Regions from separate parts of the Homo sapiens genome. Here regions 2, 3, 4, 5 and 6 are each linked to region 1. The links are contacts of gene promoters, found by promoter capture Hi-C in human tissues and cell types (Jung and others, 2019). All regions are on one chromosome and are shown on one strand. Each heading gives the region's core, a stretch centred on a gene start or on the middle of the fragment in contact. The rest is flanking DNA. Distances are from core to core; before and after follow the strand shown.

Region 1 (4,580 bases), core at 817-3,316:
ATAACTTATTTGAAACAAGCCACTTACTTTGTTAAGTAGATAGATCCATTTATGCAAATATAAGATACATACTTTTACAATAATATTCAAGGTCCGTTTGAGTTTCCTGAAAGTTGTTTTGAAAAGTCAGCTATATCAGTTCAATTATTGTATTTGACAGAAATCTTTTGTTTCAAGCAATATGAACAGAGAAATGTTAATTTCTATCTCTATTGTCTTATTATTTAATTTCTCCTTAAAAACCTGAGTTGTCACTGTGAAAGATTGGTTAAATATATATCCCCTCACTACACACGTTTCATCTAGTCCTCTTTCCAAAAATTTAACAAGGTCGTTTTACATTCTTAAAGCACCACAGCAAAGTGATTTAAATGCAAAATGTGCTTAAGTGCTACTTAACTATTCCTAACTCTTCTACTGGGAAATCCTAGAAAACTGAACTAATGAAATGCAACTTCTACTTTAAAAATTCTAATTATAACTGTCACATTAAATTGAAGGTGAGAATAAAACTGGTGTATCTGTTAACTAAGTCAAGCGATGTACTGTGTCGTACGTGTTATTTAATGTGCAAGTGTAAAAGTCAAGTTCTCTGCAGAAATCGAAGTGCCTCCCCTCAGTCTTCTGCGAATGTATAAATTAACCATTCTCCCCCAAGCAGTCCTCCTCCCTTCCTCCCTCCGCCCTATTTTAAATGTAGATAGGGCGACCTAAGTCTTTTGAATTTGAAGGGCTGCTATCTCGGCCCCATTCTTTTCATCATCCTGTTTTCAATGACACTGAGCACGTATAGATTCTTCTATAAAAGCACCCCCTGGATGCAGGGCTTGGTTCTTCAGGCTGCTTGCTTAATTTTGCATAGCAATTAGTACTGACTTCACTAAACCAGTAATCCAAATACAGCTCGAGAATGTTCCACGTAGTTCCTCAAACTTAACCCTGTGCCTTTTGATTTCAAGCCCGAAGGGGGGGAACTTGCATAATTACTAAATTCCCAATTGGAGTGGTCTGAAGGAGGGTACGGTAAACCCAAACTATACGTTAATTCAAACCCTCGCCGCGACTGGGCAGCAAGGAGCCAACATATGCCTTCTTTTAAAAATCTATTCTACCTATTCACTGACCGCGCAGGGCCGTGCCACATGGTCCTCCCTTGCAGCCAGTCAGCTGTGAGCAGCAGATGGGATCATTTGCATTTTTCTTTTTATACTTTCTTTGATCGGCAAATTAAAGGATTTTTCTTAAATTTACATTCTCATTGTTTGCCTAAAATACAAACGTGGCTAAACTGTTGAATTGGGCTTCCCTGACTCTCACCCAGCACCTCCCCCTCCCCCTACCCAGCCACTGAGACTTGAGAAAATACCCGAGGGGTAGATTTCGTATTTATCAACTGGGAATCTACAGTCCAAGAGTTAGGAGTAGACAGAATCAGCCTTTATTGAGTTGGTGACTCGTGTTTTTCTATTTTAGGCGCTCGGCGCAGACAGCCCGTGGGTTTGTGTTTGTGGGGTGTGTGTCTGTGAGCGCGGGCGCTTCCGAAGCTCTCGCTCCGCAGCCTCACACCCCAGAACTTCGGGTTGCAAGAGCAGATTTTAGCTCTGAGGCTCACAACAGAGGGCGGCCACCGTGCAGGGGGAGTGGCCAGAGCCAGCTTTTCCCAGCGCCAGGGTCGCTCTCCCGGGTCCCGCCGGACTCCATGCCGCCCCGCGGGGCCGCAGGAGCCACCCGGGCCCTCGCGCCCCAAGGTCTTTGTGCCGGTGGCGGCGCGGGAAGACCGGCCCCGGGGGCCTGGGCTGCGGCCCAAAGGCCAAAAATGCGGGAGAGGCGTGGGCGCGAGGCGGGACAAGCTCCGCACAGTCGCCGTCCCGCAAGGGGCAAAAAAGTAGAAAAAGCCGTTTGGGGCCAAACTCTCGGGTCTGAGAAACCACGTTTCCGAGGACGAACTCGCGGTGGGAGGACACATGGGGTACAGGGGACATTGTTCGCGGCGCCTGCCCGGCGCGCCGTGGGTGCGCGGCCGCCGCCCCCGCCCCGGGCAGCCAGCGCGGGCCCACGTGGAGCCACTGCGCTGGCCGAGCGCGCCGGGCCGCCTGGGTCCCGGGAGTGCGCGCCCGAGCTCCCCGCCGCGGCCGTTCACGCCCGAGCGCCGCCGCCGCCGGTCCCGCGTGTGCCCCGCTGAGGGGGAGGGGCGGGCCGGGGGTGGGGGCGGAGGGGTTGTGGTTCCACTGCAGCGGGGGCTCCTGTGTCCTTGTGCGGAAATGACACACGGAGTCCCGTCACGTCACGCGAGAGCGCAGCGCACGGACACACACAAAGAGAGGGGAAAATACACGGCGCTCGCCCGCCCGCCGCCCCCAGCGCCTCCCCGGGCCGCCCTGGCCAGGCCCTCCGCGCGCGGCCCCCACTCCCCGGCCCCGCGCCCTCCCCCCCACGTGGCGCCCAAACTCGGCGCGGGCCCGCCCGGCAAAGTACAGAACTCGCGTCCCAGGTAAGTGCGGGGCGGATCAAGCCGGCCGCGCGGCGGCGGCAGCGTTGGCGGCTCCGGGGCGAGCGGCCGGTAGAGTGGCTGCAACATCCATGCCGGGGTGGGGGCGGGAGCAGGGGAGGGGACGCGGAGGGGGGCTGCTCCGAGCGCGCCCGCCGGTAGTAGCGCCCACCCCCGCGCGGGCCGAGCGACCGGAGCGGGCGCCGGGCGCCCACGGGCTCGCCGCGCCCATTGTGCTGCGCGCCCCTTTGTGCCCGCTCGGAACGCGGCGGCTCCATGGCGTTCTGGGGAGCACGCGCGCCGCGCGGGGGCGGGGGGTTCGCGCGGTGGAACCGTCCGCGCCGCCGCCGCCGCCCGCCCCACTCGCGCCGCGCGCCGGCCCCGCACCCCCGCCGGGCGCCGCGATGGAGCGGCCGGGGCGGCCGGAAGGCTCTGCCGTACTCGCGGCGGCTTGGCGCTCGCGCTCGGCGGGGCTTTGGCGGGGCACTGCTCGGCGTGTGGAAGGGGGTGTCGGAGCGGGAGCAGGGGGCGGGGACTGGAGGGAGATGCCGGGCGGCGAGCGGGAGGCCGGGGGAGCAGCCGCTCGGAGGAACGAAGCCTCCGGAGGCTGCAAATGGAGCGAGGCCGGCCCGCGGCGGCGGCGGCCGGGAGCGGAGAGGGATGGGCCCCGCCGCCAGGGGGCGCAGCGCTCCCTTCCCGGCCGTTCCACGGCGGTTCGCGGTTCCCGCTGCCCAGGAGCTGGAGGCGGGCCCGGCGCCTTGGGTGTGCACCCGGGCTGGCGCGAGGCCTGGCCGGCCGGCCGCAAAGCTGAAGCCTGGGGCGCTCGCCGCTCCTCGTGAGCGCTCCTTTCCTTCTCTATGATAAACGTGATTTCCCACGCATGCTTTGCCCTTGCCTCATCCGTGAGCTGTGCACCACCGATTTGGAGGCCCTTGTGTGCTTGTTTACCTACGTCTCCCTATGTAGCTATTTTAAACAAGGTGTTTTTACAGAGATAAAAGTTTTATTGATTGCTCAGGTGGTCTTTCTGGAAGAATTCTGCACGTAAACGCTAACTCGACAAGAGTGCCGGGAGGAACAAGGTTACTCACTAGAGTTGGAAATGTGCAGTTCATCTCCTTAAAGTAACTTTTGAATGGTTGAATACAAATAGTAAACATGCCACAGGGCAGCGTGGCATAGTGCCAGAAAGCTACGGTTGCAGGAAACTGAGGTAAGGAACTGAGTCCTTCAGGTAGCCAGGTATATAAACGGCTGGGATGGAGGACTTTCTCTTGTTACCCGCTCCCCACTTCCACCCTTGCAGTCCGTTTTTCTCTCTTTTTTTTTTAAACCATTCATCCCTAGATATTGGCTTTATACTACCATACAAGAGCCTGTCAAGCTTTCCTCGGTACTGGGACTTGGGCAAGATTTTTTATCTCCCTCACAGTTTCACATCCCCAGCCTCTAACCCGGTGTCTCATAACTTAGTAGGCGTTCAGTGCGTATTTCCTAAATGAATGGAGAGAGCCTCTTGGATTCTAGAGGAAAGATGGAGCCAGAGCGCCAGTTGCTGCTGCTGGGTTAGCTGGTGTCTGTGTGGCCCTTGAAATCTGTCACATCAACCTCCTGTCATGGAACATGAGTTTTTTTTTTGTTTTTTTTTTTTTTTTGAGACGGAGTCTCGCTCTGTCACCCGGGCTGGAGTGCAGTGGCTTGATCTCTGCTCACTGCAACGTCTGCCTCCCGGGTTCAAGCGATTTTCCTGCCTCAGCCTCACGGAGTAGCTGGGATTACAGTCCATGTGCCACCATGCCTTGCTAATGTTTGTATTTGTAGTAGAGACGGAGTTTCACCATGTTGCCCAGGCTGGTTTCCGGACCTCAGGTGATCTGCCTGCCTGGCCTCCCAAAGTGTTGGGATCACAGGCATGAGCCACCGTGCTTTTTTTTTTTAGACAGAGTCTCGCTCTATCACCAGGCTGTAGTGCAGTGGCGTGATCTCTTCTCGCTGCAACTTCCGCCTCCCAGGTTCAAGGGATTTTCCTGCCACAGCCTCCCGAGTAGCTGGGACTACAGGCGCGTGCCACCACTCCCGGCTAATTTTTTGT
Region 2 (4,580 bases), core at 1,084-3,583, 500 kb before region 1:
TTTGAAAAATGCTACCTTAATCACTTGGATGCATAAGATGGGGCCAGGAAACCTAAGCCTTATCATGTTTTCTTTAATTAAAGCTTTCTTTTGTGGTACTGGGCCTGGATCTCATGGCACCTTTACACCCCAGAACCCCATCCTGCACATGATAAGGGTTCAGGATGCAATTACCAGTTGTAACTGAACTGCAGGAGAAGGTGAAGGTGATTCCTACACATGGGCCCCTCCGCATGTTAACAGGCTCTGTCCAGAAATCAACGTTACTCGTCCCCTTGTGGCACTTTTCTCAGCCTCAGTGCTCCCCCGCCCCTGCTCACCTCTAATCAGCTTCCTGTGCTCACTGAGGCCTAGACCCTATTACATTTCACCTTGTGGTTTCAGCTTCTGCAGTCACTACAAACTCAATTTCTGTCCTCTCAGTTCTAGTTACCCTACGCAGCCCACAAGCCCGACAGGATGTCATGAATACCAGTACCTATGGCGTGACCTTCCAAACCCCGAGGCTTCACCCAAGAGCATTTTAGGTCACACAGCTGCATTTTCTGCATGACAGATGAATTCCTGAGCATTACATGAGAAAGGGGCCACAACTGAGCAGCCTCTTCACGTGCACTTAAACCAAACAACAACAAATGGCATATCGCTATTTTTTGTATTTATACACAAAGGACTGTCCTTAACTGTCATGCTAAATAAAAACATAAAATCAAGAAAACTACTTCAAACAGCCTTGCTGGCACACTGATTTTGAACTAAATCCCATTGGTCTATGGATGAGGGTTTATTCTAGTCATGTTGATCATTTTATCTCTTCCTTTGGCCATTCTCTGCCACAGGCCTCTGCGCAAATTCAGCCTTATCCAGAGTAAGTGACACATATGTCCTAAAGGGCCAAAGAACTATGGTCTCAAGAGGAGAATGGGTGATCAGCTACCCCTAGACTAAGTAAACTCTTCTAACCAGACAAATACTTCATGGCCTAATAAACCCAAAGGAACTATGAATGCCCTTAATACTATGATTTCTGGAAGGTCACCTAACTTTCCTGAATTGTACCAGTTAGAAGTTATGCAAATTCTTCTCTATTGTCCTGTTCACACTGTACAGTCATTTACCCATTAATTTGACTAAAAAGGGCTGCAACAATTATGTAATAAGAAGGCATACGGGCCGCGCACGGTGGCTCACACCTGTAATCCCAGTATTTTAAGAGGCTGAGGCGGGCGCATCACCTGAGGTCAGGAGTTCAAGACCAGCCTGGCCTATATGGTGAAACCCCATCTCTACTATAAATACAAAAAATTAGCTTGGCTTGGTGGCGGGTGCCTGTAGTCCCAGCTACTTGGGAGGCTGAGGCAAGAGAACTGCTTGAACCCAGGAGGTAGATGTTGCAGTGAGCTGAGATCGTGCCACTGCACTCCAGCCTGTGCGACAGAGAGACTCCGTCTCAGAAAAAAAAAAAAAAAAAAAAAAAAAGGAGTCATACAACAACCCAAGCTGCCCACATCTGTGTTGCCAGGCACTTTAAGAGAGAGCATGGGCTTGGCCCTGGGATGATCAAATCAAGCTGTGGGGTGGGCAGGCTCCCCAGCTAATTGAGCTTCTTTGCTGAACACCAGTGAGATGTGAGAGATGAGTTTGGATTGGAATTCCATTATGGGTTTTCAATAATTAAACATTACATGTTTGGAACCTCATTCTTCTGTATTACTTTTTAAATATTAATCTATTTACATCAGCTGGACTTCCTGCAGCTTGATACGCAGTAAACGGGAGTCACACTGAGAAAGACAACTGTGTTCTTAGCTTAAGACATCTTTGATGATCACCAACAGTAAAGGCGACACAAACCCTCTGTTCAACCCAACCCTGTATAATAATTACCCTGCCTTTTAGAGGGTGGCTGGTTCCACTTTTTTCAGCACACTCACACATTCCTCATGACTACACTGACTTTCCAAATTAGCAAGAATCCAAATTAATCTTATCTCGAGAGTTTTATAATGCCCCTTAAGACCACTGGGGCACGCTGCCCTCTTTAGAAGCGGGGTTAGAAAATGGATGTGGAAGGTATGTGAGGGTTTCCTTGGAGATAACCCCACACTGCAGTGACACTCCAGCATAAAATTCAAAAGCCAGCGCACACATCAAAACCTCATTAAGGGATCACCTGTTTTATACCATGCCTGCATGCTGTTAGGACTTTAGGTGTGCGGGTGAACCCTGCTGCTCTGAAGCCTTCCCTGCCTCCTCCCATTTCATCATGCCTGGCAGACGCTCGAGCAGCAGCCCAGCAACTGCCCGGGAGCCCCTGTCTGCTGCCTGTTCATCCTCTCTCACCACAAACACACGGCACCCTGAGGACACAGAGGCCCTCCCCATGCCTGGATGCAAATGGCACTGCCCAAGAAGACAGCCTGAGGCCAGACTTCAATGGAATAGGGATTCTAGGCCAGGCAAGACAGCCAAGGGCTGTCTAAATCAAAGGACTGGGCCAACCGTCGCTGTGAGTGTCCGCTGCTTCGGAGATTACAGCCCCCACTGTTTCTGCAGTCAAAGTAATCATCAGACCCGAATCCACGCTCGGCCCCTCGCAGAGAGCGCCATAGAACCCTCTCCGATTTGCTTTCAATTTAAGAATTTTATTCCCTTTTAAGACAAAGCGAGCAGTGCAGACCAGCCATATTACAAGGCTATTTTAAAGAGCAAAACACCATTTAACTTAATACAAAAAGATGTAAGATTCAAAGTGGAAAATTACAAGGGAGCTACCCCAGTAATAGAAAAGTCCCCAGCTGTCTACCCTTGTGACCAGAGAGGAAGCTAGATGTACTGAAAGTCCCAAGAAAATCTTCCCAGATTTTAGTATCTTGTTCTATTGTTTTACTTTTCAGTGCTATCAATGGCATATGCAAAATACCTGAATGCAAATGTCTGTTCTTAGTCTCAGAAGGGAGCCTGGGTCCGTGCATACCATCCAGGCAATGCATGGTGCCATCAGGGCTGGTCCAGGAAAGCTAAAGTCCTAAAGCTGTGACTGGTGGTCCCAGGATGCTAAGTGTCTCCTTCCCCATGGGAGAGGTGGCTGTACTAGACTTTGCAAAGGACAAGTAGATCCCAAGAGTGCACAGGAAAGGCTCCAGAGGGAAAGAAAAGCTCCTGATTTATTAGAGACTCCACAATGGCTGAAGCCGCCCCCCCGCCCCCCCCCCACCCCCCTTCCTCAATGAGTAGGCATCCTTTTTTTTTCTTTTTTTTTTCTTTTTTTTGCCCAGAGACAGAGTCTCGCCCTGTCACCCCAGGCTGGAGTGCAGTGGTATGATCCTAGCTCGCTGCAGCCTTGATCTCCTGGGCTCAAGTGATGCTCCAACCCCAGCCTCTTGAGTAGCTGGGACTACAGGTATACACCACCATGCCTGGATAATTTATAAATTTTTTTTTAGAGACAAGGTCTCACTCTGTTGCCCAGGCTGGTCTCTAACTAGTCATCTTCTTTTAACCCAGAGTTTCAAAATCCTTTCCCGTCCATAACTGGAATTGATTAAATTTTGCCTCCTCTTCCTGCTCTCCAGAGGCAGAACTAACAAGCAGAAATCAGCCTGCCCAACCTCAGGGCAGGTAGGAACTCTCCCCAGATTCTCACAATCAGATTTTTCCCTTGGGGAACACACCATCCTTTGAATAATTCCTGGTCTGAACAAAAAACCAAGCACATTCTATAGGTAGACAGAAGTAATTCAGAAGGGGACTGCCCACTGAGCTTTTCACATTTACAAGACAGACTAGGGGCAGGTGAGGGACAAAGTGAAGCCCTCTCATTTTGCCCCATACCCAAAGGCTGTCGTTTCCTCAAGATTATCTCAGCCTTTGTCCCTCTGATTTCCAAGTGACTTGGAAAACAGAGTAATAATCCCTAGAAAATACCTAAAAGCTTAATAAATCTATTGCTTGGAAGTACCCCACTAATATTCAGTCTAAATCTTTCTTTCCTTAATTTTATTTCATTACTCCTACCCTAATTATACCCCTTGTTCTGAGCTAAATAAATTCCTTCCTTCCTCTGTGTTTATGTCCTTCAAATGTCTGAAGACCATGATCATGCCGACCACCCAAATCCTCAAACCTCACTAATGTGGCTGCATGAAATATAGAGAATAACACAAACAGTCCCCATGGGTGCCGCAGGCTCCAGCTGGATCTCTCCTGCTTTGCTAGAACCCAAGGTCCTTACTCAGGGAGTGGCTCCATTTTGAGTTCTCTAATTATCAGCATAAAAAGAGAGACGCCAGTAGGTCAGAGCAGTACACAGTTATCAGGAAACATTCAAAATGATGTTCCCACTGAATTTATAACCAGACGGAAACAAATCCCCAAACAGTAATTAACTCTAAATATTTCAGAAATTTACGTCAATGATGCTTAGTGATTTTTTTACAAGGAGGGGCATATTTTAAAACAGCTAACACAATAGATCAACATCAAATTCCCTTTTGATACCGGTTTTGCATTCAGCAAATAACAATCCAGCAATTTTTGAAACCTCAGGGTCATAACACCTTGGAGTAGATCACTGGCAC
Region 3 (4,580 bases), core at 1,320-3,819, 470 kb before region 1:
TGATATCAGAATTAGCATTTAGAACTCTATACAGAAAACTATAATATTTCATCAATTATGTAATCATGAACAAACCCTTTCAAAAACTGTTTTCACTGTGCTAAAGTAACATTCTAGACTTGTTGTAAGTATGTTATTCTTACAAGTAGTTCGCAGTTATTCTTGAAGGCAAGCCTTGGAGTTTCCTTAGCATAGTGCTGCTGGGGAAAATTTTCAGCATGTCCATCTTCATCTCTAGCCTGAAGGGAAATATAATGGCCTATTTAGGGACTTACAAATAATGGAAGAAAAAAAGCTAAAAAGCATAACAGCTCAGATCATTCAACAAACGGGAATCCAGAAATAACAACAATATTAAGAAGTTTGTTTAAATACGCAGTACGCCTTTTAGGTATCAAAATTTGGGATTTATTTTTCTTTACATTGTTTAGTTTGAACATGCAAATTCATTGTGGTGTAATATTTAAAACAATATCAAGCAAACCAAAATCAAATAATTTTGTTGGCAATTACCACCACCTTAGTTTTTCAGTGCGCATTGTTCATTGCACATTTAGGATTATATGACATACATACGTGTTTAAACTTTTTGGCATGCTTAAGCAATCTCTAGATAATGCACTTTTAAAAAATTCTAATAGCAAGGCCATAAGAAAAGCAATCTGCATAATTATATTTTGCATTGTAATACTATTAGAGATAAACTGATTCCCCTCCATTTTTAAATAAAGATCTAAAAGGAGCGATGATCTGGTAAGAACCATGATTCTTCAATCAAATGCAGTAAAAAAAAAAAAAAAGATTTAATTTAAAAGCTGCATTAAAAGTTACTGGTTATTTTGATCTACGCTGTTAATTAAGAAAGCTGAAGTTTAAATGGAGACATTAACAGAACCCATTAGCAATACCGCTTGCATACAGTCTTCTTTCTAATCTCCACTGGTTTCTGGTTTGGAGTGGGAGAGAAGGGAGAGGTAGGTGAAAGGGGGCGTGTCTGCAGCACACTCATTAAACCATTCATTTGCGTGACACTTGCACTCCGCTCTGCTCTCATCTCATCTTAGCCCTAACTGCTCTCTCTTTCCTGGCCTCCTGAAATTCACAGCTGAGCTGTCTCCCTCACATATGGCTTGCATATAATTATGCATATTCCATTTTACACTGCATTAAAATGATGAGCTCCTGGCTCCCTGCCAGCTGATTTTTAAAAGCCCTAGTGAAGTAGGAAAAAGGAGAGAAACACAGGGAGAGCCGCACAGGAAGCAGCAGGTAGTTCTGTCTGCTGTCTCTTTAGATAAAATGTATGTCTGGCACCAAGGGAACAGCTGAGAACTACCTGTTGTTATGTATGGATTGAGGGGGGAGAAAACAATGAGCATACACTGTGGCAGAGATGACAATGCTTATGTATTGTTCCTCCTTTAATGGAGCAAAATCTGCCCTGATGAGTGTCACTCAGAGCTCCCTGGCTATACTGGGGCTTGTCATTTTAGAAAGAGATCCATATTTTGTACATTTTAGAATGTATTGCTTGTGTTTAAGAAAGCTTCTGCTACCTAGTCCAGGGAGGGAACTAGATGGAACTTGGAAGTGCAATGTCATGGTCAGTAATATTTAGGTTACAAGAAGTTTGTGGGGAAAAGAGATTGCTCTCTTTTGGTTCACTTTTGAGATTTATAACATCCCTCATGCTTGGTGCCTTTTTATTGTACCTTTTTTTCCTACTAAATCAGACTAAAATAAAAATGCAGTTATAGGATTGGCTATATGCGACAGAGAAAAAAGTTTAATTGTTGTTCATGTCCAGTGGCTACAAGGCACTGAGACCAATGATGTTTCTTCTTACTGCATCGGAACAACTTTGCAGCTACGCCATGGTTTAAATTAATATAGCTCAAATGGGTCACATTTTAAATCCCAACTGGCAAAGGCAGCAGTGGCATAGATAAATGAAAGGCAGTTGTAAGAAAGTAGGAAGATGCCATTGGGCAGTGACAATATTAGATTCTTCATAACAAAATGTTAAGCCACTCTATGAGGTACAGGTCTCTTAAAGGCAGGGACCACATCAATTTCATCTTTCTTGTTCTGCCATGCCCAGTGCCTTACTTTTAGTTGATATTTAACAAACATTTAAGTGATGATGGAAAAAACCCATACGTGGATAGTAAGTAGACCCTACCATAAACAACTCTGTAGAAAATGCCACCTCAAAATATGCTAAACTTGGTAGTAGCTTTATTATATTCCTGATGCACTATGATATATATGCTTGGAAACACACTTTGCATATAATTTTCAAGGGCTACTATTTACATATGTATGTCTATATTCAATATATATGTATCTTGTATATAAATATTCATAAGGTGGAATGTGTTTATTATGCATATACTATGTATACACATTCATACACACCAGATGCCTAAGGATATTTTCAACATTAGTGGCAAAAATACATTCATTCCACTTACATGTAAGGTGCACACAATGTTTTTTTTGTGTTTAAAGGACAAAAAAAAAATCCCATTATCTAATATTTGAATATGCTTCCTCAAAGGGGCTACAGACTTCATATAAAGCTGCATAATTTATGAGGTTAAATAAAGTAGCAGTGGAAGAGAAAGGAGAGGGGGATTGAAGAGATTCGGAAGTGGAGACAGAAAGCTAGAAACTTGCTTTTTTATTGAACCATTATGTTCACCTCTGCATCAAACTTCCATGGCTCTGGGAATGGCCTGTCCTCTAACACCCACCCTGACTCCAGAGTCCAAGAAATTCTATCCTTCAGCCATTTGCTGTGTTTCCACTACATGCCACAGAAATGAAAAGCATGCAAAGTACAAGAAGTTCTTGAACCATCACCTTCACGTGTATTTGTGTGCACAAATAACTCACACACACTTCTCACCACTGTAATCCCCTTTGCATTGTGAAATTTTTAATGTGTAATTTTAAATTACTATGACAGGAATAAGTGTAATTCAGTGCATTCATCTAACACAGGAATTCGCTACCCCAGCTGCATATTAGAATCATCTGGGGTGTTTTTTTTTTTTTTTTTTAACATATTGGTGTCTGACCCCCTCCCTTTCTAAGATTGTGCTTTAACTGGGGCCTGGACACAGGTGGTTTTTAGAAAGCTCTCAGGTGATTGTAATGTACCAAAGAAGGGCGAGAACTGCCGATCTAAGGAGAGTGCCTACAGCTATCAAGGGGAGGCCCTTGGCATAGCTGCCAGAATGTTCTCTAACCAGGTCCCAGGCCCACTGGAGTGAACCATTGTGCTATGAGAGGGGGATATACAGGTTGAGCAACCCAGATTCAAAAATCTGAAATCCCACATGCCCCAAAATACAAAACTTTTTGAATCCCAACATGATGCTCAAAGTAAATGTTCATTGGAGCATTTCATGTTTTGAATTTTCAGATTTAGCATGCTCGACCAGTAAGTATATACAACGCAAATATTCCAAAATCCCAAACACTTCTGGTCCCAAGCATTTTGGATAAGGAACACTCAACCTCTAGGATGTAGTCCCTATGGTAGACCTTACCCTAAATATTCAAAAAGCCTGGGCAACACAGGGAGACCCCATCTCTACCAAAACAAAACAAAACAAAAACTAGCCAGGTGTGGTGGCATGCACCTGTAGTCCTAGCTACTTGGGAGGCTGAGGCAGGAGGATTGCTTGAGCCCAGCACTTCGAGGTTATGTTGAGCTATGATCGCGCCACCACACTCCAGCATGGGCAACAGAGCAAGACTCTGTCTCAAAAAAAGAAAAAAGATTTAAGAGATTACAGAACTAGTTGCTTGTGGGCAAAAATTATCATTATTTGTTTGTTTGTTTCTTAGTTTCTGGTATGACCAATAATCTTGGAAGAACTACCATACCACTTCCTTAAAAAGGCCTTCCCAAACCTCTCTATCCAAGGCAAATATCTCCTCTGTGGTCCTTCTTAGACTCAACATGGTTGCAACCTTGGAATTACTGGTGTGATTTTTGTCTCCCCTAGTAGCCTACAAGCTTCCTAAGGGCAAGGACAGAGTCTGATCTCCCACCACTGTATCTTCAGCCCAGCCACTGCCTGATGCCCAGTAAGTGATCTGTAAGAATGAGTTGGATCATTCACAGAACTGGTGGCAATGTTAGACAACATCCATAGGACCTTCCTTACCCTAGAGAATCAGTTCATAATGTTTTACAACCTCTTATATATTAAAGTCAGAGGTTTATTCTACATCTGCCCCCACTTGGGTGGGGTGCCAGACAATGGCTTAACAAGGAGGGTGGACATAGGACACCAACGACCCCTTCAGGGAGGAATATGTGAACACTAAAATTGTTCAGAATCACTGGCTCATGGTAACAACATAAAGCAGACCAACTTTTAGCTGGTTTTATTATTGTTCTTAAATCCTCTGCAGACAATGCATTCTCTAATTGCCTCTTGAGAGTGGACCACCCCACTGTCGGCTCTAGATATCCACTGGGGCCAGAAGAATTGTGTTCACGTCTGACTTTTTTCCAGAGTGACAAGTTCTGAAAGAAGGCACATCAAGGCACTTCATGATGA
Region 4 (4,580 bases), core at 547-3,046, 430 kb before region 1:
AAACATCTCCTTATCCAGAGCTGAATTATATGATCATAAAAAATTAAAAATTAACTGATACTTACTAAGTACTAAATGACTACATTAGAAATGTAAAAAAAAAATGAGCAAAAGGGCTTGAATGAGGAGGGGAGCTGTACTTCTGGGGGAAAGGAAATATAAAGTTCTAACTCCATTTACTCTGGGGCACTTTAACTTTCTTCTTTCATCGCATTTAATGCAAAATGACACCCTAAATGAAACCCCATAAGGCATCTAGGGTTTTTTTTTTCCTGAGTTTCTATTTAATTCTGGTTATTTTGATTTAAGCTTCTATAATCAATTTGTGCTTCAATAATACAAATAACTTCCATGAGCTCCACCCCAGTATAGGGCTTGGGAGTATGCCTCTTTATAATTAATTCTCTGGATTTATCTGTTTTTTTTTGTTGTTGTTGTTTGTTTGTTTGTTTTTGAGATGAAGTCTCGCTCTGTTGCCCAGATTGGAGTGCTGTGGTGCGATCTTGGCTCCCTGCAAGCTCCGCCTCCCGGGTTCATGCCATTCTCCTGCCTCAGCTTCCCGAGTAGCTGGGACTACAGGCACCTGCCATCATGCCCAGCTAATTTTTTTGTATTTTTAGTAGAGACAGGGTTTAACCATGTTAGCCAGATGGTCTCGATCTCCTGAACTCATGATCTGCCCGCCTCGGCCCCCCAAAGTGCTGGGATTACAGGCTTGAGCCACTGCGCCCGGCCGGTTTATCTGTTTTTAATTCAATTTATTTATTTATTTATTTATTTTTTAGAAATAAGGTCTTGCTCTGTCACCCAGGCTGGAGTGCAGTAGCACAATCACAGCTCACTGCAACCTCAAACTCCTGGCTCAAACAATTCTCCTACCTCAGCCTCCCTAGCAGCTGAGACTACAGGTGTTCACCATCACACCTGGGTGATTTTTTTTATATTTTGTAGAAACAGAGTCTTGCTATGTTGTCCAGGCTGGTCACGAACTCCTGGCCTCAAGTGATCCTCCCACCTCAGCCTCCCAAAGTGCTGGTGTTACAGATGTGAGCCTCTGCACCCAGCCCTTAATTCACTATTTAAGTCAACTTTGATTGTGCTGAAATTTGGGAGGTCAATATTCTTTTCTACTTATTAAACAATTCATGATAAAGAACGTTGAAAATTATATTATAGGTTGGCTGGGCGCGGTGGCTCACGCCTGTAATCCCAGCACTTTGGGAGGCCAAGGCGGGCGCATCACGAGGTCAGGAGATGGAGACCATCCTGGCTAACACAATGAAACCCTGTCTCTACTAAAAATACAAAAAATTAGCCAGGCATGGTGGCGGGCGCCTGTAGTCCCAGCTGCTCGGGAGGCTGAGGCAGGAACCCAGGAGGTGGAACTTGCAGTGAGCCAAGATCACGCCACTGCACTCCAGCGTGGGCAACAGAGCAAGACTCTGTCTCAAAAAAAAAAAAACAAAAAGAAAACAGAAAAAGAAAATTATATTATTGGTACATGGTTTTCTCTGGTGCCAGTAGGCCATGAGATTGGGGATTCCTTTTGTTGTTGTTGGTAAGCAGTATTGACTTGATGTCAGATTTGAAGTTCTATTAGATTTACAGCAGTGGTGTCTGCTCCTTTACATTTGATTCACAAATCCCTCATACTCAATGAACTCTCAATGGTACCACTTTAACTAGAAGTAAAAAGTCATCAAACTAAATCATGGGACTGGGTTGTAAGTCTACCTTCTCTCCCTTCCATTCACCTGCAGTAGTCTAAATCACTCCTTCCCTGAAGCATGCCTTATCAGCTGTGCAGTGCAATAGAAGGGGGAAAATGTTTTCCCAACCCAGAAACCCATCAACTTGGACCCCGAAGCATGACATCTGAACACTTAACTGCAAGACCAGGAACAGCTCACAACTACTATCCATGATCATTAACAACCTGCTTGCATTTCCAGGGCTGCCTCCGTGGATTAATGTATGTACTATGTATTAAACCATCTGCCATGGAGTCTGACCTAGTCTTTCCCCATTGTGGCCAACTGCAAAGGTTACCCCTGAGTGTTAAGAGGCTGAGTACATTTTGATTACATTTACATTTACCAATTCTTTAGTTTTATTATTAGTTCTTTTGTCCTCAACAATATACCTTTTCAGGCTTTTGTATCCCATATTTGTATAGCCTGCAGTATAATAAAAACACATTTAATCCTCTGTGTCAACTCTTTTAAAGTTCAGCGTTAGCCTTTTATAAAAATCAGGTTCAAGAAGAATGAACTACACATTTCCTGTGAGAAGGGACATAGCTTGATTATCAGCATATTGTTTGACGTACTTTTGTCTGCTTTTAAAAATTGTCTTTAATGCAGTCAAACATTTAAACGTTAATTTTTTTACTCTAGGCAGGTAACACAATGAGCCCCCTACAGATGGGACCAAGTTCTCCTCTCTGGGGATGCTGAGAGTCAGCCCATATCAGGGACGTGAGGATTAAAACGTTTTGTTCCCTTGTGCTCGCTGATGGCTGAGTGAATGGAATTGCATCTGATGTCAGGTTACCTCATTATATGTATATATTTGTAAGGGTTTCTTTTTGGGCGGAGGGTAATTCTCTGTGGTTTTTCAAATGAAAGCAACTAAGAGAAAGTAGTGAATGCTACCTCCTTCCTGTCATCTACTGCCAAATAAGCCATCAGTATTACCAAGTGACACTACTCCTAATATAAACCCCTGGGATGGTACACTATTAATTTCTCTACCCTGAGGAATATCATCCACTCCTTCCCCAGGTTCTTAATCCAAGGCTGGGCTTTATTCCTTGTCTTCAGTTGTTTATGTTCCTCAAGGGTCTCTTCAGGAGGAGTCAGCCAAACTCTAAATGAATTACTTGGATTTTTGAAAATCCAAACAACTTACCTTACTTTTTTGCAAGGCTATATTTGGTCATTTTTATTTAGGTTTGTATCAAATGCTAACTCAAGACATAAATACTGTTTTTTGTTTGTTTGTTTTGTTTTTCTCAAAGGAGCCTCCTCAAATAGTGACCCTGCAAACTTTGTACTGTTCTGTCATTCCTTAGAGTCTGGCTTTTCTCAAAATTATGATAATGGACACTCACCCATTTCAAATCCAGAGGCTTTCTGTGTGCACATGAGTGCAGGCGCCAGCATGCTCATGGGAAGATACCTGGAGGACTGCATCCAGGATGCAGCAAAGCAGACCCTTGAGAGAGGCTGGATGCCCTTGCACCCCAGTGACTTCTCCACTCTCAAGTATACGTGCTATTTTTAATGCTATCAGCAACATCATACTTTATTTCCTTCATATGTTTTGGACCCTCTGATTTACAGCACTTAAGCTTCTCAAATTTGCTTCAACTGATTTTCCTTAAAGATTCAAACCACTGTTTAAGTTGCAAAAAATCCTTATAAAACCTGCTCTACATCACAGATTGATACAGGACAGGGAAGCTACTCCCAATTGCCCATATACGGCATCTTTCTCTTACACTGCTTCCTAAGGTCCTTGGAGCACAGCTTCTGATATCCAATGTCCATGCGTACAGTCTTCACTATTTTTGGTTGCTTTCCGAAATGTCATCTGTGTGCCCTCTCCATTTCCCATTGGTCTTTAATACGTCTTCCAAATTTCCTGAGACGGATTTTTTACTTTCTAAAGGATGCCTTTTTAGTACTAATAAAACTTTCATACTTGTCTGCTTAATCACGCCAGCTTTACTGTCCCCTTTTTCCTTTTTGTTTTTGGCTCAGAGGTATATGAACCATCTGTGCCTCTAAAACAGTTTGCTTAAATAGCCTCCAGGCAGATTTTATGGTTTTTAAGTTTTTTACTTTAACCTTCAGCCTGCTGTTAGCCATTTTCAGCACAGTTTTAAAATCAGCCTCTTTTGGAAATGACTGTCATTATGTGTGGCTTTCAGGAGCTACTAGATCTGGAGAGGAGGCTGCTGACTCCAGCTGAACTGCAGTCCCTGGTTCACAGTCACCTGAGGCAGGTAAAGGTGTAGCTAGCCTTATAAGGGTCATCTCTCCCATCTGGCATCTGAAGAGAGATTCAGATACCTCTCATTAGCAATATCCATGTCCACATCACCCAGGTAAGACCCAGGAAGATAAAATCTGAATTACTTACCTGCCTATTTATTTGTCACTACATTTCTATAGAGTTGTCATCATGACTTTAGGTACTAAAATTACATGCGAGGCTGAAACAAAGAATACAAAGAAAGGGAGGAGAATCCCTTCCTTCCCGCCACACCATTGCACCACAAGAATCACCCTCTGTTGCCGTGCCAGCAAACATGCTGTTCTCTTTCCGTTTTATCACGATTGTCTTGCCTAGGGACCTGAGTGTCAATCAGCAGTTCTCTGTCCTGGAATTCATCATTACCCAAAGTTTCTGTCTGCCCTTGTATTAACGTTAACGTAACTATATAGTTCTCTCTATATATAACAAAACTATATCTCTTCACCACACCTAGTGGGGATGAGGGTGAGTATCTGCCCTTTCTGTGGCTCTTCCCCGCAAAAAGTGACTTATCTCATTTATCTTTCAACCACATTCAT
Region 5 (4,580 bases), core at 930-3,429, 420 kb before region 1:
TGCCAGATCATTCTCAGCCAGATTGGTGGTCCTCCCAGCCCCTCATGTCATGTCATGGGGTTGCTCAGAATGAATTTAGGTGGTTTGCAAATATTTCCATTATTTAAATTGTATTTCTTTTCCTTTGTATGAGAAGAAAACAAATTTAACTAGCATAATGAGCCCATGATATCACAAATACTACTGCTTAAAACAAAGGATTTTAAAGTGAGTCAATTAGTAAAATATATTCAGTAAGTCATAGTGCAGGTGGTCAGAAGTTATGACAAACATTATGATGGTGATATTCAGGTCTGGGAAAAACTGGCCTCTGAGGGGTGGGTGGGGGTGAATAAAAGGAAACTTTAAGTAGACACCTAAGTAATATTTCCTTGTTGCCTCTTAACGGCTTTTGCTACATCTTGAGTTTTCTCTGTCCTCCCAATTGATAGTGACTGTGTGTGTGTGTGTGTGGTGTGTGTGTGTGTGTGTGTGTGTGTGTGTGAGAGAGAGAGAGACTGATTGCCACATCTCTTCTTCCTTTATGGAATTTTTTTTTTATTAACCCACATTCATGCTCCAGACATGAATGGTAATCATAAAATCCCCAACAAGCACTCGTATAGTGTTGTCTGATTTCTGGATAAAATCCCCCAAAGACTAATTGCTAAGCAAGGCCTGGTCCACGAGTTGTTGACATATTCAGGGTTCATAGAGTTTGTCATGCAATCATTTCATTTCCAGGGAAAAGATTTGGTTTGAGGCAGTGTGGTCATCAGCCTGCAAAATTAGAAGCAAACTAATTTGTAGTGCAGAGATATGGCTTTTTTCCCCCTGAGTATCACCACTCAGAACTATATGCAGCATTTTATTTACCTCAATGGAATAAATATTGCCATTTTAATGACCTTTTAGTATTTCACAAATTACATATTGTGATCTATTGTTATCAAGTGAGATAGTATAAAAAATGACCTTTGATGTCAGTCCAACATTTTTGATAACTTTCTTTAAATGGTATAATATGAAATCAAATGTCAAACAATTACTGTATTTAATAATTTGTTCTATTCAAAGCAAGCTTTTTGATATTTCAGGAATATCCTTAACAAAAAAAATTTAAAAATAAATAAATAAAAGCAAGCTTTTATTTATATTTTACATGATCTCTAATATGGCATCTCTCTACATATGAACATTTTACATGGTATGAAAAATTAGCAAAGCTTTATAATTTACCTTGGTGTATGGAGCAGTTTTCTTAGATTAGAAATAGCATATATTTTAAAATATTCACCTATCTTTACTAAACTAGATAGCAACTAATAGTTTCTATTTTTCCCAATTGATAAGATACTTTAAAATCTTAAATTCCTGAAAAAGAAGATACAGCAGAATTCTCATAAATTATCCACTGGCAGTAAGCTTGATTCTGGTGAAATCTGTAAGGAAAAAAATTTATGCGGGAAATCACCTGGCCTCACAGTTTAATGAGGAGACCCCACTTCCCAAGGAGCCATTTTAGAACATGCATTAGGTCCCCCTCATTATTTCTTCCTTTAAATAATCTGATTTGGGAAACAAAGCATAAAACTGTTTAAGTCCTAGATCTTCAGCTATAATGGACCAACACTGAGATGAGAAAGAATAGAGTGCAAAGCTATTCACAAGGCCAGGCGCTTAGCTTGCAGCTTGGACCTGGCCTGAAGGAATGATGCTTGAGGCCAAAGGGCAGCTCCGGGGTCTTTCTCAAGCTTCAATCCATCATCACCAGACAGACCCACTTGTCATTTTTTAAAGGGAGGCAAGAATACTTTCTTACAAAGGACCTAACAAATAAACGAACAAAAAGGTAGAATTTTAAAACAGATTATTTCTTATAAATCATTCTTACTACAAAGCAACAATATGACATGAGACCAAATACATTGTGCACTTTTATATCTGGCTGCTGGAAAAACTTCTAGAATGATGGTTAGCATCTGCCTTGTTAAATAAGTCAACGCTCCCCGCAGTTTTTCATACAACTCCATTTCATAAAGGTATATGCTTTGGGAAAAGCCCATCAGATTTCTCCTTTTCTAGTATTAAACTGTTATCAGCAGCTAATGATCCAAAGAACAGTCTGATAATTGGGTTATTCAAAAAATTTAAAAAACATTTTCCGGTATTTCAGGCATTCTAGATTTATAAAAGTCTTTTATATTAGTAACAGATTTTAGAAACTAATAAAGAACTGTGATTATCTAAATTAATATTGTCAGCCAAACTATAGTTCAAAATTCTGTCATCAGACATGAGATGGTGTCCCCATCTTATGACTGCACCCCTAGAAAAGTGAACACTTCTTAAGTGGTTAAAGTCAAAAGGATCAGTCCACTTCAACCCTGCATCTCTTTCTACCTGAAACACGGAAATGAAATGCATGCTTTACAATAAACATGGAAATGAAATGCATGCTTTACAATGGCAAAATAGAAGGTTTCAGCACTTTAACTTTTCTAACTTGATCTGCTTTAAATTTTTTTTTCTACTTAAAAAAATATTTCTTCAAGCTAGGGAAAACCTAATTACCTGTCTTACATTTTGGCTAACGGTCTGTGCCATTAGAGACTTGAGATTACCTCAGAGAAGATTCACATAACAGATTTTTACATGACATTACCTTACAGCCATCAGCCTGTGCATTTTTATAATAAACAATACAACAAATGTAAAATGTTTACAGCATTAAATCACATTCCCAAAGAGAACGGTTTGTATAACATAATTTTCATATGATAATATCATATAAATATGTATCAGTCAAAATAAGCATATTTCAATTAATCATGAAAAATTTGTACCGAATTTAATTAAGCAGAATGTTTAAGGCATTTTCTTTCCAATCTAATGTTCCAAGAGCTATAGAACATTTTTCTACTTTACATCCCAGAAGTTCAGATTACTCCAAGATGAAATCAAAATTGTATTTATTATAGTGCAGAGAAGTATGAGATCAAGCATTTCTGGAATGCCCTGCTGAAGTTGTTTGAGAAATTGCCTTATCTGGTGACTTTTAAAAATAAGGATGGCCATTGGTCAGTGATCTTCTTGGGGCATTTAAATTGGCTATAAACATGTATACTAACTTACCTGACCAGTGCCCAAAGAAAATCAGTAGGGCATTAATGGACTCCAGGCAATTAAACTGTAGATTTACCACCCCTTTGTAACTTTCATGGGAGTCCAAGACTGAGGGGAAATTCCGAAAGTATTTGCTGGGACATCTATCTCCTCCAACAGTTCCTAGAATGCACACATCCAGATAATCAATGAAAGACCTGGATTATATTTGAGACAAGTTACAAGGCAGTCTGAGGAGACTCCTGTGTGTTCCCCATGCCATGAAATGACATGAAATGGCCCATGGCCGGGCTGCACTGTGTCAATCTACTTGTTGCAGCAGCTATATTTAAAAACAGAATAAAGTCAAGGCCTGGAAAGCAGGCAAGAAACTGAAGTTTGCTTTCTTTATAACTTCTGCAAAAAAGAAATTCCTTTTTGAAATAATTCAATTCCAAACACTTTAAAGCAATCTAACTTAAAGTTTCTACAGAGTCCACCAGGAGTTTCTGTACAATTCCCTGTGTTCTAGGAGTGAACATACAAGGAGACCCAGAGAAAACTGGGACCACTAAACCACAAAGAACATAATGATAGCAGTACTTCGCAGGTGCCCGCACAATGCACGGCTCATTTCAATGTTATTTAATCTTTTTCACAACCACCACCAACCAGGCAGTTACTAACATTAATCTCCATTGTGCAAATGGGGAAAGTGAGTTTATATGTTAAGTAATTTGCTCCTAATCACACAATAAGTACATATCAGAGCCTTACTGAGGACCAGGCCATCTGATTCCAGAGCCCAAGCTCTTGACCACTACACCTTAGAGACCACAGCTTTTCTAAGCAGTAAGATTATAAACCATCCTCACAGACCTCTCTCCACAAAAAGGACTAAAAGCTGTCACACATTTTGCAACTTACACAGCACATTGCTCAGTGACACAACAATAGACAAAGAAAATGAAATCAAAAAGGTCAAAATGTCTTTGAGGAGACAGCTGAAGTGTTAATCAATATTTGTTGATTGATTTTCAAAAAACAAGTTAAAGGCCCACGGTGCAAGCCTTTACTTCTTTATGACTATGAGACATGGATTTGCTGCAAACATTCTGTATAACTCGCACCAGCAAGTGCTACTTAAACATTAAATGATAAGACAGGCCCAATAATATGTGGATCTCAAGCAGTTATTCTACCCACAGGCAAGCAATACTCTTGTCAGCCTTCTCTTTTCTAAGGAGCAGGGCTCACAGCAGAACATGGATAAGACTGGCTTTCCATGTGGTTGAAATGGGAGACCCCCCTACCTCTGTAATTTCAAGGGTGCCAATAAGAATATCCTAGCTTCAAAAAATTATCCTTCAGCTGCTCACTAAGATTAAATTCTACCACTAGAAGGTCATTTCTTTGGCTAAATGTTTCTTATGAACCATTAAAACACCAATTCCCTGAAAGCAAGGAGGCTCAATATATACTTGTAAGTAATGATT
Region 6 (4,580 bases), core at 1,552-4,051, 290 kb before region 1:
TTTAAAAAGGTTTTCCAGACTTTTTTCTTTTTCCTCTCCCTCAGGAATATTAATCTATGTAATATGGTTTGGCTGTGTCCCTACCCAAATCTCATCTTGAACTGTAGTTCCCATAATCCCCACATGTCATGAGAGGGACCCAGTGGGAAGGTAATTGAATCATGGGGGCGGTTACCTCCATGCTGTTCTCATGATAGTGAGTGAGTTCTCACAAGATCTGATGGTTTTATAAATGGCAGTTCCCCTGTACGTGCTGTCTTGCCTGCTGCTATGTAAGACGTGCCTTTACTCCTTGTTCGCTTTCTGCCGTGATTGTGAGTCCTTCCCAGCCATGTGGAACTGTGAGTCTGTTAAACCTCATTTTTCTTTATAAATTATCCAGTCTCAGATATGTCTTTATTAGCAGTGGGAGAACGGACTAATACAGTGAATTGGTACTGGGTAGAAGGAGGGGCTGCTGTAAAGATACCCAAAAATATGGAAACAACTTTAGAACTGGGTAACAGGCAGAGACTGGAAGAGCTTGGAGGGCCCAGAAGAAGACAGGAAGTTGTGGGAAATTTTGGAACTTCCTAGAGACTTGTCAAATAGCTTTGACCAAAATGCTGATAGTGCTATGGACAGTAAAGTCCACTCTGAGATGGTCTCAGATGGAGATGAGGAACTTGTTGGGAACTGGACCGAAGGTGACTCTTGTTGTGCTTTAGCAAAGAGACTGGTGTCATTTTGCCCTGCCCTAGAGATGTATGGAACTTTGAACTTGAGAGAGATGATTTAGGGTATCTGGTGGAAGAAATTTCTAAGCAGCAAAGCATTCAAGAGGAAGCAGAGCATAAAAGTTTGAAAAAATTGCAGCCTGATGATGCTGTAGAAAAGAAAATCCCATGTTCTGGGGAGAAATTCAAGCCCATAGCAGAAATTTGGATAAGTAATGAGAAGCCAAATGCTAATTGCCAAAACAATGGGGAAAATGGCTCCAGGACATATCAGAGACCTTCTGGAGAGCCCCTCCCATCACAGTCCCATGGCCTAGGAGGGAAAAATGGTTTCTTGAGCCTGGTCCAGGGCTCCCCTGCTGTGTGCAGCTGCTGGACTTGGTGGAAATGGTGCCCTGCATCCCAGCCGCTCCAGCCATGGCTAAAAGGGGCCAAGATACAGCTCAGGCTGTGGCTTCAGAGGGTGCAGGCCGCAAGTCTTGGCAGCTTCCATGTGGTGTTGGTCCTGTGGGTGTGCAGAAAACAAGAATTGAGGTTGGGGAATCTCTGCCTAGATTTTGGAGGATGTATGGAAACACCTGGATGTCCAGGAAGAAATTTGCTGCAGAAGAAGGGAAATGTGGGGTCAGAGCCACCACCCAAAGTCCCCACTGGGGCACTGCCTAATGGAGCTGTGAGAAGAGGGTCACCATCCTCTAGACACCAGAATGGTAGATCCATTGACAACTTGAACCATGTGCCTGGAAAAGCTGCAGACACTCAGCGCCAGCCATGAAAGCAGCTGGGAGGGAGGCTGTCCTCTGCAAAGCCACAGGGGCTGAGTTGCCCAAGACGGTGGGAGCCTACCTCTTATATCAGCGTGACCTGGATGTGAGACATGGAGTCAAAGGAGGTCATTTTGGAACTTTAAGGTTTAATGACTGCCTTGTTGGATTTCGGACTTGCATGGGGCCTGTAGCTCCTTTGTTTTGGCCAACTTCTCCCATTTGGAACAGGAGTATTTACCCAATGCCTGTACTCCCATTGTGTCTAGGAAGTAACCAACTTGCTTTTGACTTTATAGGCTCCTAGGCGGAAGGGACTTGCCTTGTCTCGGATGAAACTTTGGACTTCGACTTTTGGTTTAATGCTGTAATGAGCTAAGTCTTTGGGGGACTGTTGGAAAGGCATGATTGTGTTTTTAAATATGAGGACATGAGATTTGGGAGGAGCCAGGGGTGGAATGATATGGTTTGGCTATGTCTCTACCCAAATCTCATCTTGAACTGTAGTTCCCATAATCCCCAAATGTGGGAGGGACCTGGTGGGGAGATAATTGAATCATGGGGACAGTTACCTTCATGCTATTCTCGTGATAGTGAGTGAGTTCTAGTTCTAGTTTATAGTTCTAGTTCTAGTTTATAGTTCTATAAACTGCTTTTTATAAAACCATCTAGATCTGATGGTTTTATAAAGGGCAATTCCCCTGTACATGTTGTTTGTCTGCTGCCATGTAAGACATGCCTTTGCTTTCTGCCATGATTGTGAGGCCTCTCTAGCCATGTGGAACTGTGAATCCATTAAACCTCATATATATACACATGTATATATATTTTTATATATATATATATATATAAAATGTATGTATATATGTGTGTGTATATATATGTATACATATATACGTATATATGTATACATATATATACGTATATATATGTGTGTGTGTGTGTGTATATATATATTACCCAGTCTCTGGTATATCTTTATTGTGAGAACAGACTAATACACTATGATTTATACGTTTGATTGTTTTATATAGTCCCATACTTGTTGAAGGCTTTGTCCATTCTTTTTTGTTTTTTTTGTTTGTTTGTTGGTTTGTTTTTTTTTTGAGACTGAGTCTTGCTCTGTCACCAGGCTGGAGTGTAATGGCGCAATCTCGGCTCACTGCAACCTCTGCCTCCTGAGTTTAAGCAATTCCCCTGCCTCAGCCTCCTGAGTAGCTGGGATTATGGGCACCCACCACCACAGCTGGCTAATTTTTTGTATTTTTAGTAGAGATGGGGTTTCATCATGTTGACCAGACTGGTCTCGAACTCCTGACCTCAGGAAGTCTGCCCACCTCTGCCTCCCAAAGTGCTAGGATTACAGGTGTGAGCCACTGCGCCCGGCCTAATTTTTGTATTTTTAATAGAGACAGGGTTTCACCATGTTGGCCAGGATGGCCTCAAGCTCCTGACCTCGTGATTTGCCTGCCTTGGCCTCCCAAAGTGCTTGAATTACAGGCATGAGCCACTGTGCTCAGCTGTTCATTCCTTTTTTTTTTAATTGTTGTCTGACTGGGTTAGTTCAAAAGGCCTGTCTGCAAGTTTTGAAATTCTTTCACCTGCTTAGTCTATTCTGTTGTTGAAGCTTTCAACTGTATTTTGTAACTCCTTGAACAAGTTTTTCATTTCTAGAAGTTGTGTTTCTTGTTCATATCCTGAGTTGATTTTCTGATTTCTTTGTATTGGTTTTCAGATTTCTCTTTTATCTTGTTGAGCTTCTTTAAAATCAGTATTTTTAATTTTTTACCTGGCATTTCAAAGATTTCTTTTTCGTTAGGATCCATTGCTAGAGATGTACTGTGCTCCTTTGAGGATCTCATAGCACCTTGTTTTTTCATACTTTCAGTGTTATGCTGATTCCTTCACATCTGGGGTAACAGTCGCTTCTTTTTATTTTTGAATTACTTTTGTTGGAGTAGGACTTTTTTTTCTTTTGAGGGTGTGTCTATGATGATGTTTAGTAGGGTTGTCTAGTTTTGCTTTTGGGTGCATTCACTGGTATAGACACTGTATAATTTCCTTGGTTATAAAAAGCCTTAATGCAGCAGCTTTCTCAAATGCCAGTTGTAGTAGTAATGTACCAGTAGGGAGAGTAGGCTCAAGGTCTCCTGAGTAGCCGGGCTTGTGTGGGTAATGGTAATAGTAAAGGTTGCACAAAGCTTGTGTCCTTCCTGAGTACTGTACAGTTGTATCAGCAGATACTGTAATGGGCTTTGCATGTTGACCTCCTGGCCAGTAATTGATACTTACAGGTGAGAGCCTGCTGTGATGGTTGCAGTAGTGTTTATACTTGACCTTTGTTAACCAGGAGAAGTACTTGGATGTCCCATGCAACGGGCTGGGCTATGGATTAGTTGTAAAGACTTGTCTTCAGGTTCTGAAGTTCAGCGCATTATAGTATCTGCTGACACAATTGCACAGTGCTCGGGAAGGAGACAAAGTTTGTGCAACCTCTGCAATTACCATAACCTATGGTCTGTCTCTAAGGCAGTTGGGGCAGGGCAGAGCTGGGTAGAGCTGGGCCAGGCAAGTCTGTGCTCAGGCCCTCCAATGGCAGGTGCAAACACCAGCCCTGATAAGGGTCAGAAGGCTGTTTTCAAGCCCCTGGAGCAACACTCCAGGGAGCAGTAGGACAACCACTGCCATGCTAGAGAGCCAGTATGGGGAAAAAGGGACTGCTTGAGCTCCACAGCTTAGCACGTGGTAGTGGGACCTGCATTGCTCCCATGGTCTTGACCTAGCAAGACTTTCTCTTGCAGACCACCTCTTGCAGCAAGCTGAGACAGCCAGCCAAGTCACAAACAGTTCATCCTCAGGTTGCAAAACCACCCCAGTCTGCCAAACTCCCAGGACAAAAACTGCGGCCCCCAGGCCACACTCCTCCCAGTCCAGTCCCACAAAGAGGGAATTGGGGGCCTAACTCCTGCACCTGCAGCTGGAGCTCACACCACATTCACCTCTTGGTTCTGACTGTGGGGTGTCCTCCCCGCTTGAGACTAGATCACAAATGCCAGTCCAGAGATTCTCCAAATCATTGACTGCTGCCTATTCTGGTTGG

Evidence for each region. Contacts are between HindIII fragments. The study calls those that stand out against the background at their distance.
Region 2: a contact is called between a fragment that was not itself captured here and the fragment with the promoter of BEND3 in region 1, in 2 of the 25 tissues and cell types used here (mesendoderm cells and thymus).
Region 3: a contact is called between a fragment that was not itself captured here and the fragment with the promoter of BEND3 in region 1, in 1 of the 25 tissues and cell types used here (dorsolateral prefrontal cortex).
Region 4: a fragment that was not itself captured here is called in contact with the fragment with the promoter of BEND3 in region 1 in 1 of the 25 tissues and cell types used here (dorsolateral prefrontal cortex).
Region 5: a contact is called between a fragment that was not itself captured here and the fragment with the promoter of BEND3 in region 1, in 1 of the 25 tissues and cell types used here (aorta).
Region 6: a contact is called between a fragment that was not itself captured here and the fragment with the promoter of BEND3 in region 1, in 1 of the 25 tissues and cell types used here (small bowel).

Annotation. Positions count from the first base shown.
Region 1 is chr6:107,113,001-107,117,580 of GRCh38, reverse strand. It overlaps BEND3 (BEN domain containing 3), which reads left to right and starts at 2,066. Exons shown (of 4, transcript NM_001367314.1): 1 at 2,066-2,491. RefSeq lists enhancers at 51-816, 817-1,580 and silencers at 2,173-2,222, 2,263-2,312, 2,443-3,352. The HindIII fragment of the contact is 9,723 bases long and covers 1-4,580 here.
Region 2 is chr6:107,614,720-107,619,299 of GRCh38, reverse strand. The region is part of intron 5 of SOBP (sine oculis binding protein homolog); the gene reads right to left. Among named protein-coding and RNA genes, the nearest start is that of SOBP, 130 kb to the right of the region's middle. The HindIII fragment of the contact is 4,763 bases long and covers 1-4,580 here.
Region 3 is chr6:107,582,739-107,587,318 of GRCh38, reverse strand. It overlaps SOBP (sine oculis binding protein homolog), which reads right to left. Exons shown (of 7, transcript NM_018013.4): 5 at 144-239. Among named protein-coding and RNA genes, the nearest start is that of SOBP, 95 kb to the right of the region's middle. RefSeq lists an enhancer at 776-1,668. The HindIII fragment of the contact is 4,254 bases long and covers 443-4,580 here.
Region 4 is chr6:107,545,141-107,549,720 of GRCh38, reverse strand. All of the region lies in intron 4 of SOBP (sine oculis binding protein homolog), which reads right to left. Among named protein-coding and RNA genes, the nearest start is that of SOBP, 57 kb to the right of the region's middle. The HindIII fragment of the contact is 4,925 bases long and covers 1-4,258 here.
Region 5 is chr6:107,528,146-107,532,725 of GRCh38, reverse strand. The region is part of intron 3 of SOBP (sine oculis binding protein homolog); the gene reads right to left. Among named protein-coding and RNA genes, the nearest start is that of SOBP, 40 kb to the right of the region's middle. The HindIII fragment of the contact is 3,696 bases long and covers 332-4,027 here.
Region 6 is chr6:107,400,285-107,404,864 of GRCh38, reverse strand. All of the region lies in intron 1 of PDSS2 (decaprenyl diphosphate synthase subunit 2), which reads left to right. Among named protein-coding and RNA genes, the nearest start is that of PDSS2, 57 kb to the left of the region's middle. The HindIII fragment of the contact is 5,895 bases long and covers 1-4,580 here.